Linked DNA regions of Homo sapiens: all the other regions are linked to region 4. Evidence: promoter capture Hi-C in human tissues and cell types (Jung and others, 2019). All regions are on one chromosome and are shown on one strand. The core of a region is centred on a gene start or on the middle of the fragment in contact, and the rest is flanking DNA. Distances in the headings are between cores, read along the strand shown.

Region 1 (2,858 bases), core at 148-2,647, 190 kb after region 4:
ATCATTTCAATGGATGCAGAAAAAGTATTTGACCACATTTAATATATGTTCATAATAAAAACTCTCAGCAATCTAGCACAGAAAAGAACTTCTTCAACCTGATAAAGGGCATCTTTAATGATGAAATATGGAACAGTTTCCCAGCAAGTTTGGAAACAAGGCAAGGATGCCCACTCTTATGACTTCTATGCAACATTGTACCATCAGTCCTAGCCATTACACTAAGGCAAGAAAAAGAAATAAAGCTTTTAAAGATCAGAAAGATAGAAGTAAAATTGTGTCTATTTGCAGGTGATAATTTTTTGTATAAACAGTTCTAAAGAATCTACACAACTACAATTAGAACTAACAAATGAATTTAGCAAGGTCACATGTTACACGGTGAATATATAAAAATTGATTTTATATTTTATTAATTTGCAGCAAAAAATTAGAAAAAGAAATTGAAAACCATTAATTTACAAGAATGACAAAAATATTTAGGAATAAATTTAACAAAAGATGTGCAAGACCTATACACTAAAAAATGACAAAATATTGCTGAAATAAATCGAAGAAGACATAAATATATGGAGAAATATACTGTGTTCATGGATTACAAGACTCCATGTTGTCAAGATGTCAGTTCTCCCCAAATTTGTCTATAGATTCAATGCGAAATTTTAGTAGGCTCTCTTTGTACCAATTAAAAGTCCATTATAAAATGTATATGAAAGTACAAATGACCTAGGATTACCAATATATTTTTTATAAGGAAAGACAAAGTTGATAGTCTTCTTGACCGAAGAACAGATGTGTAGATCAGTAGAACAGAATAGAGGGTCCTAAAATAGATCCATAAATATACTATTGATGGGCTTTCCACAAAGGTGCAGGGACAATTCAATGAAGAAAGAATGTTCTTTTCAATAAATGGTACTGGAACAATTACATGTTCATATACTCAAAAAAAGAAAGAAAGAAAGATGAAAGGAAGGAAAAAGGCAAAAAGAGAGACGGAACCTCTCTCTACCCTCCTTACCTTGTAGCATATTCAAAACTAAAAATAGATCATAGACCTAAATATAAATCTTAGACTATACAATATCTAGAAGGAAATATAGGATAAATTGTTTGTGACCTTGTGTTATGGTTTTAATGTGTATTCTCTTCAAAACTCAGATTGAAATTTTATTGCCAATGTAATGGTATTGGGATGTGGGCCTTTAAGAGGTGATTGGGCCATGAGGGCTCCACCCTCATAGATGGGTTTAATGTCTCTGGAAAAGGGCCTTTGTGGGTAGGTTCTCTCCCTTTGCTTTTCCACTCTTCTGCCATGTGAGGAAAAATGTTCCTTTCTCTGGAGGATGCAGTGTTCAAGGCACCATCTTGGAAGTGGAAACCAGGCCTTCACCAGACACCAAACCTGTTGTTGCCTTGATCTTGGACTTAAGAACTATAAGAAGTAAATTTCTCTTCTTTATAAATTACTAAATCTCATGTATTCTGTTATAGCAACACAAATTGGACTAAGACATCTTGGGCCATATTTCTTGGGTACAAAACCAAAAACATAATTTACAAAAGAGAATAAGATAAATTGGACTTTATCCAAGTTAAGCAGGGAGCAAAGTATTACTTTATTAATAGCTTAAAAACAGGCTTGCCCAGATCCCATAGCCAGCAAATGGCAGAGTCTAGAAATGAACTCAGGGCAGTCTGACTCCAGCATCTACAGTTTTATGCACAGTATTCTCATACAACTCTACTTGTAAGTTACAGTGTAGGGAGCATAGACTTCAACAGCACAGCTGTGCCTCTGAGCTAATTAGCCAAGAACTGCCTGCTGCTCCCCACCCTAATCCTCCGCTTGGACCTGAGGGATGCCTGAGCGCTTAAGCGTTAGCAACACTGAATGAGCTTTCAACAAACCCAGTGATGCTTCATCACCAAAGAAAAATGTTATGACAGAAGTTAGGACCAGGCTGTCTTCCCTGAAGATTTGCTAGCTCAATCTTGATAACTCGTTCTTGCTGAAAACAAGGGTTGTCCATGTGACTGGTATCACTCCAGGGGCTATGCTACAGTGAATGCAGTTAGGCAAGAGCTTACACCTCAGTGAGAGCTTGCACAGGGAGGGATGAGCAGGGTGTAGGGCTGAAATCCACAGTGTGGGCCCTTTCCTGCCATTCCTGCCTCTGCTTTTTTCCTTCCTACAGTGCTTCCCTTGGGACTAGGCACATAGTGGGTTTCAATAAAGACTCATTGCAGGCCCTGAGGCCAGTATATGGAGCTGCCTGGAATCCATGCAGTGGCATTGCTCCAGAGAGGGATCTTCTGTTGGGTGAGTTCATATACCCCTAAGACCAAAGAGCTGCAGCACAACAACATTTTGAGAGCCCAGCCCCCATCAGACTGCATCCTGTCCTGGGGTCCAACAGCTCCTGTGTCTTCACATCCCTAGAGCCTCACTGACATCCTCCTTCATCCACCCAGAGGACTGCAGTGGCATGATTCCAGCTGGACCCAGCAATATGACAGGAGCACCAACACTCTAGCACACCCAGTGTCCTGCACGTTGCAGCACACTGGGGAGGCTACCCCAGGACAAAGGGAGCTGAATGTCATGCTCTCCAGCACATGACAGTCACCTGCCTGGGGGCACTGCCTCTGATAGCAACCCCAACCCCCAGCAGCAGGGCTGCAGCACACTTACACATACCCTGAGGACAGGCTCTCTCTACCCACTGCCACCATTGCTGCCACCATCCAGGCACTTTACCTGGGGATGGGGCATTTCCCCACCCTGCCCATCACAGCCTGCACCCATGCAGGCCTAGGGACAGGCCCATCCCACTTGGCACCACCCCTCTCAGTGC
Region 2 (3,069 bases), core at 425-2,924, 150 kb after region 4:
CCTGCCCACTGCTCCTCTCCCACCAAAGCAATGCCTGGAGAGTTCTCCCACCCATTGCAAGGCGCAAGACAGACCCTCACCCCAGCCCGAAGAATGCAGAACCCCAAGAGTTTCTCTACAAGTCACCCTAGAGTGGAAGCCTGAGGTTCCCGTGACTTCCTTTCTCTGCTCCCTGAGTTGTTTCACAGGGCAGGCCCCAGGCCTCTACTCATCACTTCTGGATCTTCAATAGTCTCTGTTTCAGCAACAGAAGCCAAGCCCAGGGGTCTCATATGCCTCCCCAGATCAGCACTTTGATTTGGGGATCTTTCTCACTTCTTTCCTACATCCCCCTTTCCCCTGTATTCCTCCTCTATTTCCCTGTGGCTTCCTGTGCCTTCTAGATCCCAGCAGCCCTTGCAGGCCAGCCTGCCTTGGACCACACTCTCATGGGGGAGGCCTCACCTTCCCTTCCTCCATCCCTCCTCCCCAGGCCTCCTGCCAGACTTCCTCCCAGCCAGCTGTCACTCAAAGAAAGATCTGATAAAATCAATTAATAATGACTGCCACTATAACCAAACTGCTCTATAACAGAAAAATGTATTTAACAAACATTCTCTCTGAACTCTCATATCAGCCTGCAATATCATTCTCCTCGTTTCACCAGTAATGAAGGAAATAAATATCCATCTCTCCAAGAGGTTAAGTAACCTGTCCCAGATCATGCAACTAAGAAGTGTTAAGATTTGAATCCAAGTTGTCTTATTCCAAATACCTGGCTCGCTCTTTCTTTTCTTTTTTTTTTTCTTCTTTCTTTTTTCTTCTTTCTTTTTCTTTCTTCTTTTTCTTTCTTCTTTTTCTCTTTTTTCTTTCTTTTCTTTCTTTCTCCCTTTTTCTCTCTCCTCTCTCTCTCTTTTCTCTCTCTCTCTCTTTCTCTTTCTTTTCTTTCTGTCGCTATCTCTTCCTTTCTCTCTCTTTCTCTCCCTTCCTTTCTCTCCCTTTCTTTTCTTTCTTTCTCTCCCTTTCTTTTCTTTCTTTCTTTCCTTTCTTTTGTTTCTCTCGCTCTCTCTTCTTTCTCTCTCTGTTCCTTTCTCTCCCTTTCTTTCTTTTTTCTTTCTTTCCTTCTTTCTTTCTTCCTCTCTCTTTCTTTCTTTCTTTTCTCTCTCTTCTTTCCTTCTCTCTTTTTCTTTTTACCAGCTGCTGCTTCCTCACCACTGTCCCACTGAGGGTTAATGCCTGCATAGGACTTAATCTGGTTCTTTTCCCAGCGGAGTTTGATCCAGTGCTTGGACCAGGAGAGTAAGCCAGCATTAGAGAGAGGCTGAGGGGCGAGCCTGGAAGGGCCTTTCCAACTCCCTTCCAAGCAGCCTCAGAGCAGAGGGCTCCCGCTTGACCTGCTCAAGAGAGAAGTGGCCATGCTCATGCAGAGCTTCTGAGGGCTCTTTTCTGCCAAATTCTAGAAGGCAAAGCAAGGGAAGGAAGACTTTGCTTGCTGTACCATTCTGAATGGCAAGCTGACATTACGGAGCCTATAGACTCTTCTTCTCTTCCTCTTCTCTTGATTTCTGGAGGTTAATTCTTCACTGTGAGGCAGAGAGACCTCTCTCAGAGACTCTGGCTGTGTTTGCAAAGCAGGTCCTGCTGCCCAGGAGGCTCAATCTGAAGTGTGAATAAAGCTAGTAATACCTGCCCCTCCCCACATTCTGCCAGAAAGCCCCCCCCCCCCGCCACCCCTTATTAAGTATTTGTTGCATGAATAAATGAATGCTGCTCTACCTCTCCGTTCATGGAGCTAAGTCACCCAGTCAACTCATTCTTACAGATGGGGCCTTAAGAGCTTAAGAGGTCACTTTTTTGCTGGAGGAATGCTCAATTGAAAAAAAAAAAAAGATTACTAATGTGAAATTTAAAGGCCCCATATCTCTTGGCTGTAGAAGCTAATTTTATCAGAAGTCATTTTAGTTTACAAGCAAATCTCATATGCAGATGAACATTGATGCAGGCTGCCTTTTACATAATTGAACTAGATGGTTGGCCATTTGGTGTAACTGGAGAAGGGCTGGAATATCTCCTCTACCCTGAATGTCACTCACACTGTTCTGTCTCATTGCCTGGGATCCTCCATTGGAGGTGCACTACCTTGTCATCTTAAGAGCCTTTGAGATAAGTGTTGTCAACAATTCAACATGTGGTTGGCATGACACTAAATATTCAGATACATGCATCTCCATTACTGGGATTGTATAAAGATAGTATCACTATCCTAACCAAATTAAAGAAAACCTACCCAAGATGAGATTCACATGCTTCTTATTTTCTGAAACTGAAGGTACCTCATGTCTCCAGAAGTGCCATGAATTCCAGGCCCCAAGCCTAGAAAAGGAAGCAAAAGTGTAGAAAGAAAAAATGGCCTTGAAATTAGAGTGGGAAACAAGAAACAAGCAAGGAGTAGGAAAGAAGAGCGGAAAAGGAGATGCTGGCAGTGGTGACAGCAAAGAGAACTATGGTGCCCATTTTCTACAGGGAAGCAATGATTTGTTCCTCATGAGCCATGAATCCTTTCTCCCTGGACTCACCTTATTCCACTTTGTCTCAGGGCCTGGAATCCCACCTTTAGGGATGAGCTCCTTTGCACACTTAACAGCCTTTTAGCAGTCACTGTTTAGCCTGGGGCTGGTTCCATGCACTTGCCAGTCTGTAGGCATCTTCTGCTTCTCTGACTGAAGGTCACATCAGGTGAGGCTGGGCTGTGTACACCTAGTCACTTGTGTAGATGCTTCGTTCACATCTTCACGGCTGTGACAAAAATGTTTTAGGAAAAACTAAATGCGTGGCTTAGATCTAATCAAGTTGCTCAGTGAGATTATTTACCCCAAATGCAGGGAGCTGGAGTTAAAGACAGGGGGTTCATTCAGCAATGACAAAGCAATGCATTTCCTCATTTGTAGCATCTGGCTTCCAAGCCTCTGTTTTCCCAGTTTTCATTCAGAGCCAAGGATTAACTGCTCCAGAGAATCAAGACGATAAGCAGATGTTGCTTTGCCTGTGTTCTTTTCTGAATCAAATCTGTTTGTAGATATTGGGTGTATG
Region 3 (2,948 bases), core at 156-2,655, 240 kb before region 4:
TTACAACAGGGGAAAAAATTAGTTACTTGGCAGTAGTGCAAGGTAAAAAAAAAAAAAAAATCTACAGATTTAGGCAACCACCCATGAAGCTGATTAACAGTCAGTGATCAGGAGGAACAGCTTTGCCTCTTAAACTTTTCACCTCTCATTGTTAACTGTGAAATTTTATTTCCGTTAAAAAGCAAGCCTGTAATCAAAACGGTGCCATTCCGCACTTTTCTGCCAGTGCTTTTGTTAAACTGTGCCCACACCATGCAGCCAGTGTGCTCAGGAACCAGGCAGCCAAAGGTGTAGCATGTTTTAAAAATATTGCTTTTCAGTCCATCCTTGCAAGGGGAGAAAAATAAAACACTTCCCTCTCCTCCCCAGCCTTTTGGTCTCCTCAAGGCTGAGAATCAAATTCATTGCCCTCATAGTGTGGTTCAAAACCTTTCGGATAGTAAGATAGCAAATCGTTTTGTAAGGTAGAGATGTGACTTCGAGATTACAGCTGGCTTGATGCTAGTTGGTAAAAATACTCTCATTCATGCAAATGTTCTTTGAAATATAATTTTACATGCCGTGGGTTTTTTTTTTATAAACTTTCGCAAAACCACCCTGAAGTGTTTATTTTTCTGTATTTTTGTACATAGCTCTGAAAATAGGCTTGGGCTGGGCTGTGAAGTCAGTACATTGTGTTAAAAACACGGCCATATTGCACTTCTGCTTATCTATTCAAAATGCCACATTACAAGTGGCTGGTGCTTATAATCTGTGTGGTGTGCTGTTGATAATTGTGGATACTGTAAAGGGTAAACAGTCTGAACTCCACTCCTGCTGCTGCTGTTCACGCCGTAGTAAGGCTGAGCGTGTTACATCCAATTATGAAGTAAAGCATAATGCTACTAATAGCAGCTATATAATTTAGTTTAGTCCTCAAAGACCCTGTTTTAACCTCTGAAATTGGAAAATTATTTTATTCATGATTTGCTTTTTCTTCATTTTCTTTCAAGGTGCCTTTTGATATTTGTCAAAATTGTAATTATTAATTGGGCAAGGAAGTACAGCCTGGGTAAATGGAATTATTCTTAAAACTCATAACATTCCCCCATCGAAGCAAGTATTGGCTAAGAGCTTTGTGTGTGTTCAAGTACCCTCACATAACAGACTTGCTTGATTCAGAAATGATCCAGGGCTGGGTTATAGTGTTGCCTTTGAGGGTTGTCAGCTCTTCCCCATTGTGGAAAGGTCTCACAGGCAAGACGGGGCTGGCCCCTGGCCCCTTTCAGCAACGAAGCCTCCACTTTGGCCTCCAGAGGTCAGCATAGAATCCAAGTTAAAAGTGATTTCTAACCCATATTTACAGAAGAATTATTTATCCCACATATTACCTCAGGGACTTTATAAAGAGCTCATTTGAGTCTCTGTATATTAGTGCATTGTGAGTGAGTAGGTCAGCTGACTGCCACTGAGTAATCAACTTTCCCTTATCCCCAATCCCCAAGGAAAGAATTGAGCTAGCTTGGTCCTCTCTTCCCTCTGTAAAATACTTCAGTGAGCTCCCTCTATCACTAGGGCAACTGGCAACAAAAGTATTTACAGTGGTAAGTCCCGGTCAGTGGGTATGGACTGGGAAGTTGGTGAAGCCATTTTCTCAGCATTTTCTAAAATTAGACTAAATAGTAAGGTTGGAGGACCTGTGTTTAGGCTTAACACTCTCGCTACTTTGGTAGCAGCAAAAATCCACAAGGATCTTCCTAAATAGACAACAAATCATCTGTACACAGAACAAACTCTGTCTAAGAAAACAGAATGAAGTCACCTCAGTGACTGTACCACCATCAGTTCTTGGGAAAGTAGATTGGAAAGTGGATTAGAAATTAAAGGCTGAATTAGCTTTATGTTCCCCAGCGGAAAAGGGGAAGTGGGCTCATGACTCCTGTCCTTAATAGTGACAGCATGTCCATGTCATGGTTTGGGAATATGATTTAGAAGGAACATGCACTTCGAAAAGATTCAAGTTAACATGCCCCAGAGGGACCAACCTGGGAGAGTGTGATGTTGAGGCCATTCATTTTGCTTTAGGGTGGGTGGAGTGGGTGGTGTTTGACTAATTTAAACAATAAAGGAATTGACTCCCTGTATAATTTAAAGAAATATTTATTTTTTTATTCTTATAATCTAAAAAGAAATTAACAATTGGCTCATAAATTCCAACTTCAAAAATATTAATTTTGTCTTTATAAATAGCAAATTTTTATTTGCTAGAATAAATATAAATATAACTTTAAAACTATTCCAGCTGAATGAAGAAAAAGTGTACTTCATATGTGAGAAACCTAACTGGATTTTAAAATCTTATCACAGAAATATCCTCAGAACTTCCCTGCACAGTATGAACAGGAATGTTGCTAGTCTAATTGTTGGAGTATGTTCTCCTCCTCAGAGAAAAGAATTTTTGAGTGACTTATTATTAATGTTAAAACCCCTAAGAAGCACCTGGAGAGCCTTTGCAGTGTCTTGGGCCCCACAAGCCTTTCCCTGTGCCCAGATGTTGCCACGGACTCCAAGCAGTGATCTGAAATGCCCGCCTGCCTGAATAGTGTGGCATTGGTCAGAGGCAGAGGGTACAGAGAGCAGAAACTTCTATGTCAAATGCCCAGTCAGGTGATGATGAATGAGCCCCAGCTCTGCCTTCTGTCAAGTGCCTCACAGTTTATAGAGGTCAAAGTGCAGTTTGGGTATTTATGAAAAAAACCCTACCCACCCCCACCAAAAACAATCCCCATGTTAATGTATAGAATTGTCACATTAGTGCCACTGAGAACTACTTTGAGTTGCTTTTCTGTGATTTATTTTTCCAGAACTATATATTTTGGTGTAAAAGTCATCATGATACTCAACATTAATATTGACTGGTAAAGATCCCTAATTGGAGTCCCCTTACCTTTTTCTTTCTATTATTGTTT
Region 4 (2,967 bases), core at 62-2,561:
GAAATGCCGGGAAGCACCACCAGCAAGAAATCTGCAAATCCCCTTTCATCTGGGCTCAAACCCCTCTGTCCTGAGGATGACCAGACCTACTGTGCCTGCCTCACAGGGGATACAGGCCCACAGTTCTGCGCTGCCCCGAAGCTCTCTGCTTCTCCACCCTTTTCCTCTAGCGACCGAGTAGTTAGTTGACAACTTCCTGAATTGCTCTGCCCGCTTTAGACAAATCCCTGCTCGCCGGGTCTCCGGCATAGAAAGGCCTAAGCATCGTCCAAGTCAGGCCGGGCTGCCGCTGGGCTGTGGCCGGGCCTGGGGGCCCAGTTTAGGCCTCTCCGGGGGACCGGCAGAAGCCCTGCGAACCCCTCCCTTGGGCCCCGGGGAGCTGGCGCCGAAGAAGGTCTACTTACTCGTACCTTTCCTTGGCCTCGGCCGCCCGGTCGCGCTGCCGCCGGTTCTTGAACCAGTTGCTGACCTGTGTGGTGGTGAGGCCCGTGGCCTCCGCCAGCTCACGCTTCTCGCGGGGTGAAGGGTAGGGGTTGTGCGCGTACCACTCGCGCAGCACGCTGCGACTCTTTTCCTTGAAGCAGTAGCTGGTCTCCTCGCCGTCCCAGATGGAGCGCGGCAGCGGGAATTTGCGGCGCACGCGGTATTTGCCCACGGCGCCCAGGGGTCGGCCGCGCAGCTTCTCCGCCTCGATGTAGTGTGCCTTGAGCCACAGCTGCTGCAGCTTGGCGTGGTTGTGCGGCGAGAACTGGTGGCTCTCCAGGATCTTGTAGAGCTCGCGGAAGTTGCCGCGGTGGAAGGCCACCACGGCCTTGGCCTTGAGCACGCTTTCATTCTTGTGAAGGTGCTCGCAGGCGGGCAGCGACCACAGGAAGCGGCCCAGCCGCTCGATGTTGCCGCCCTGCTGCAGCACCTCGCACACGCACGCCACTTGCTCCTGCGTGAAGCCGAAGGTGGGCAGCATGGACATGGTGCCGGCTGCGTCCCCGCCCGCCCGCGCGCGCCCTCACCGGGCCGCGCGGTCCCGCATGGGAGCTTCCTCGCCGGGCCGTCCGGGCCGAGACGCGGGCGGGGCTGGCCCCCTGGCCCGGCACTGGCCCCCGGTGAGCCCCGAGTCACTGCCGTACGTCCCCGCGCCGGCCGCGGGTCCCACGAAGCTCCGAACCCCAACGGCCCGCGCGCCTGGCCCAAGCCCTCGCCCAAGCCCGGGGGCCGCCCGGGGCGCCGCTCCGCATGCTCCGCGCCCGCCCGCCGTTCCCTCGCTCGCTTCTCACTCGTTCTCCCTCCCGTCTAGCTGGCTCTCAGCTTTCTTAATAATATTATTCTAAGCGGGCATGAGGCGCGGCGGCCCGCGCCCTGATTGGTCCGGTTATCTGACCCGGGGCCTGCCAGCGCCAGACAATAGTCGGAGTCAAATTATTCGCCATGGAGACGCTGTCAGTCACTGGTAACCCGAGCCTCGGCGGGCCGGGCGGCTCCCCCCGGCCGGCTCCGCTGACAGATCGCCCCGCTCCGCGCAGAACTGAGGGCGGCTCTACTGGAGCCTGGGGCGCTCTGAGAGCCTGGGAGGCGGAGAGGGGCCGGGTTGGGGCCGGCGGCGGCGGAGATTGACGGGGCGGATGCCCAAAGAGGGAGGGAGGAGGAGGACAGGAGAGCGGGGGGAGCGGGCGAAGACGAAAAGGGGTGGATCGAGGTGGGGAGAGAAGAGGAGAGAAGGGAAGGCGGAGACCGTTTAAGGGGGTGTCCAGGAGGAAGGGGAGGGAGAGGGGTGGAAGGAGACTCCAGGGGAAGAAAGTTTGGGCAGCTTTGGCTAGGAGAGGGCTCTGCAGCCTCGCCCAGACCCTACAGGGTTCCCCTTCTCCCCAGGTCACCGCGTCCCTCCCAGGCTCTCTGTTCACCGGGCACATTCTACCCCGGCGCAGGCCAGTGGGATGGGAGAGTTTGGACGTGCTCGGGTGCCGCCCAAAGACTTGGCTTTTTCTGCTGACAGCGCCCCACCCCCATCCTAGAAACTCTGGACTCAGCGGTCCTCGAGGGAAAAGGGGAGGGAGTAGACGAAAGAAATGGGGAAGATTTGGCAGTGGCCGCAGGCGGACGCCGGAGAATCGACTTCCCGGAGGATCCCGCCTTTCCTCCCTCTCCTAGCCCCGCCGGCTGCCTGGCGGCCTGTACCGCCCCAACTCTGCGCTCTCTGCTCCTCGCCGGGCGGGGACTCAGACTTAACCCCACGGGTCCCACAGCCCGAGGAGCGCCAGGCAGTTCCGTGTGGCCTCTATGGAAGCTGACTCCGGCCGGCAGCTGCGACGCAGAACCCCGGACGGCGCAGACCCGCAGTCTGCCCACCGGGGCGGGGGAGAGGGGCGACGGCAGGGACTCTAGGACGGTGGTGGGGCTTCCCCGGTGGGTGGTCGGGGAGGAGAACGGAGGCAAGATTCCCAGTCCTCCCGCTTCGCCGCTGGGGATCGGCTCGGCTCCTGGCCACTCCAGCCTGGGAACCGGCTCGCTGAGCTCCGGGATGAGGTGCTTTAAAAGGGGGTCCTGTTTTTTGCTTCTTTGTCAGGGTGCCAATGGAAACATGTGGTGCTGGTCCTGTGGGAGAAGGGCTCGCACAAAGGTGGGAGAACTGAGGATGGGTGTGTTCTTGCTCTACGTTTTGAAAAGCCCGGGGCTTAGCTCCTTCCCGGACATGTCCTTTCCACTTCCTTCAGTTTCCTCCTCTTCCCCCCTCAGCTGCTGCAGGCCAGGAGCTCCTAGGGCCATACTCAGTGCCTGACCCAAGCCAGCACAAATCCTGGGCTCTGCCCTCAGCCAGTCTAGGGCTATGGAACCCGAGTCTAGGCCAGTTCCTTCTTTCCCACCCTTTTATGCTTTCTATGGAGTTTGTGCTAGGAGCGCGGAATGGGAGTCTAGAGCCCTGGGTTCAACTTTTGGTTTTGCTTGGTGTCTATGGTAAGGCATATATTTATG

Evidence for each region. The method cuts DNA at HindIII sites, captures the fragments that hold promoters and counts their contacts. A contact is called where the count stands out against the background at its distance.
Region 1: a fragment that was not itself captured here is called in contact with the fragment with the promoter of SIX2 in region 4 in 2 of the 25 tissues and cell types used here (mesendoderm cells and thymus).
Region 2: a fragment that was not itself captured here is called in contact with the fragment with the promoter of SIX2 in region 4 in 1 of the 25 tissues and cell types used here (neural progenitor cells).
Region 3: a contact is called between a fragment that was not itself captured here and the fragment with the promoter of SIX2 in region 4, in 2 of the 25 tissues and cell types used here (H1 embryonic stem cells and mesendoderm cells).

What each region holds. Positions count from the first base shown.
Region 1 is chr2:45,198,212-45,201,069 of GRCh38, forward strand. All of the region lies in intron 1 of LINC01121 (long intergenic non-protein coding RNA 1121), which reads right to left. Among named protein-coding and RNA genes, the nearest start is that of LINC01121, 55 kb to the right of the region's middle. The HindIII fragment of the contact is 4,686 bases long and covers 1-2,858 here.
Region 2 is chr2:45,153,845-45,156,913 of GRCh38, forward strand. No RefSeq gene overlaps it. Among named protein-coding and RNA genes, the nearest start is that of LINC01121, 100 kb to the right of the region's middle. The HindIII fragment of the contact is 7,800 bases long and covers 1-3,069 here.
Region 3 is chr2:44,769,084-44,772,031 of GRCh38, forward strand. The region is part of intron 10 of CAMKMT (calmodulin-lysine N-methyltransferase); the gene reads left to right. Among named protein-coding and RNA genes, the nearest start is that of LINC01833, 170 kb to the right of the region's middle. The HindIII fragment of the contact is 4,294 bases long and covers 1-2,948 here.
Region 4 is chr2:45,008,141-45,011,107 of GRCh38, forward strand. SIX2 (SIX homeobox 2) reads right to left here and starts at 1,312. Exons shown (of 2, transcript NM_016932.5): 1 at 411-1,312. The coding sequence starts at 970. RefSeq lists enhancers at 7-780, 1,785-2,384. The HindIII fragment of the contact is 8,583 bases long and covers 1-2,967 here.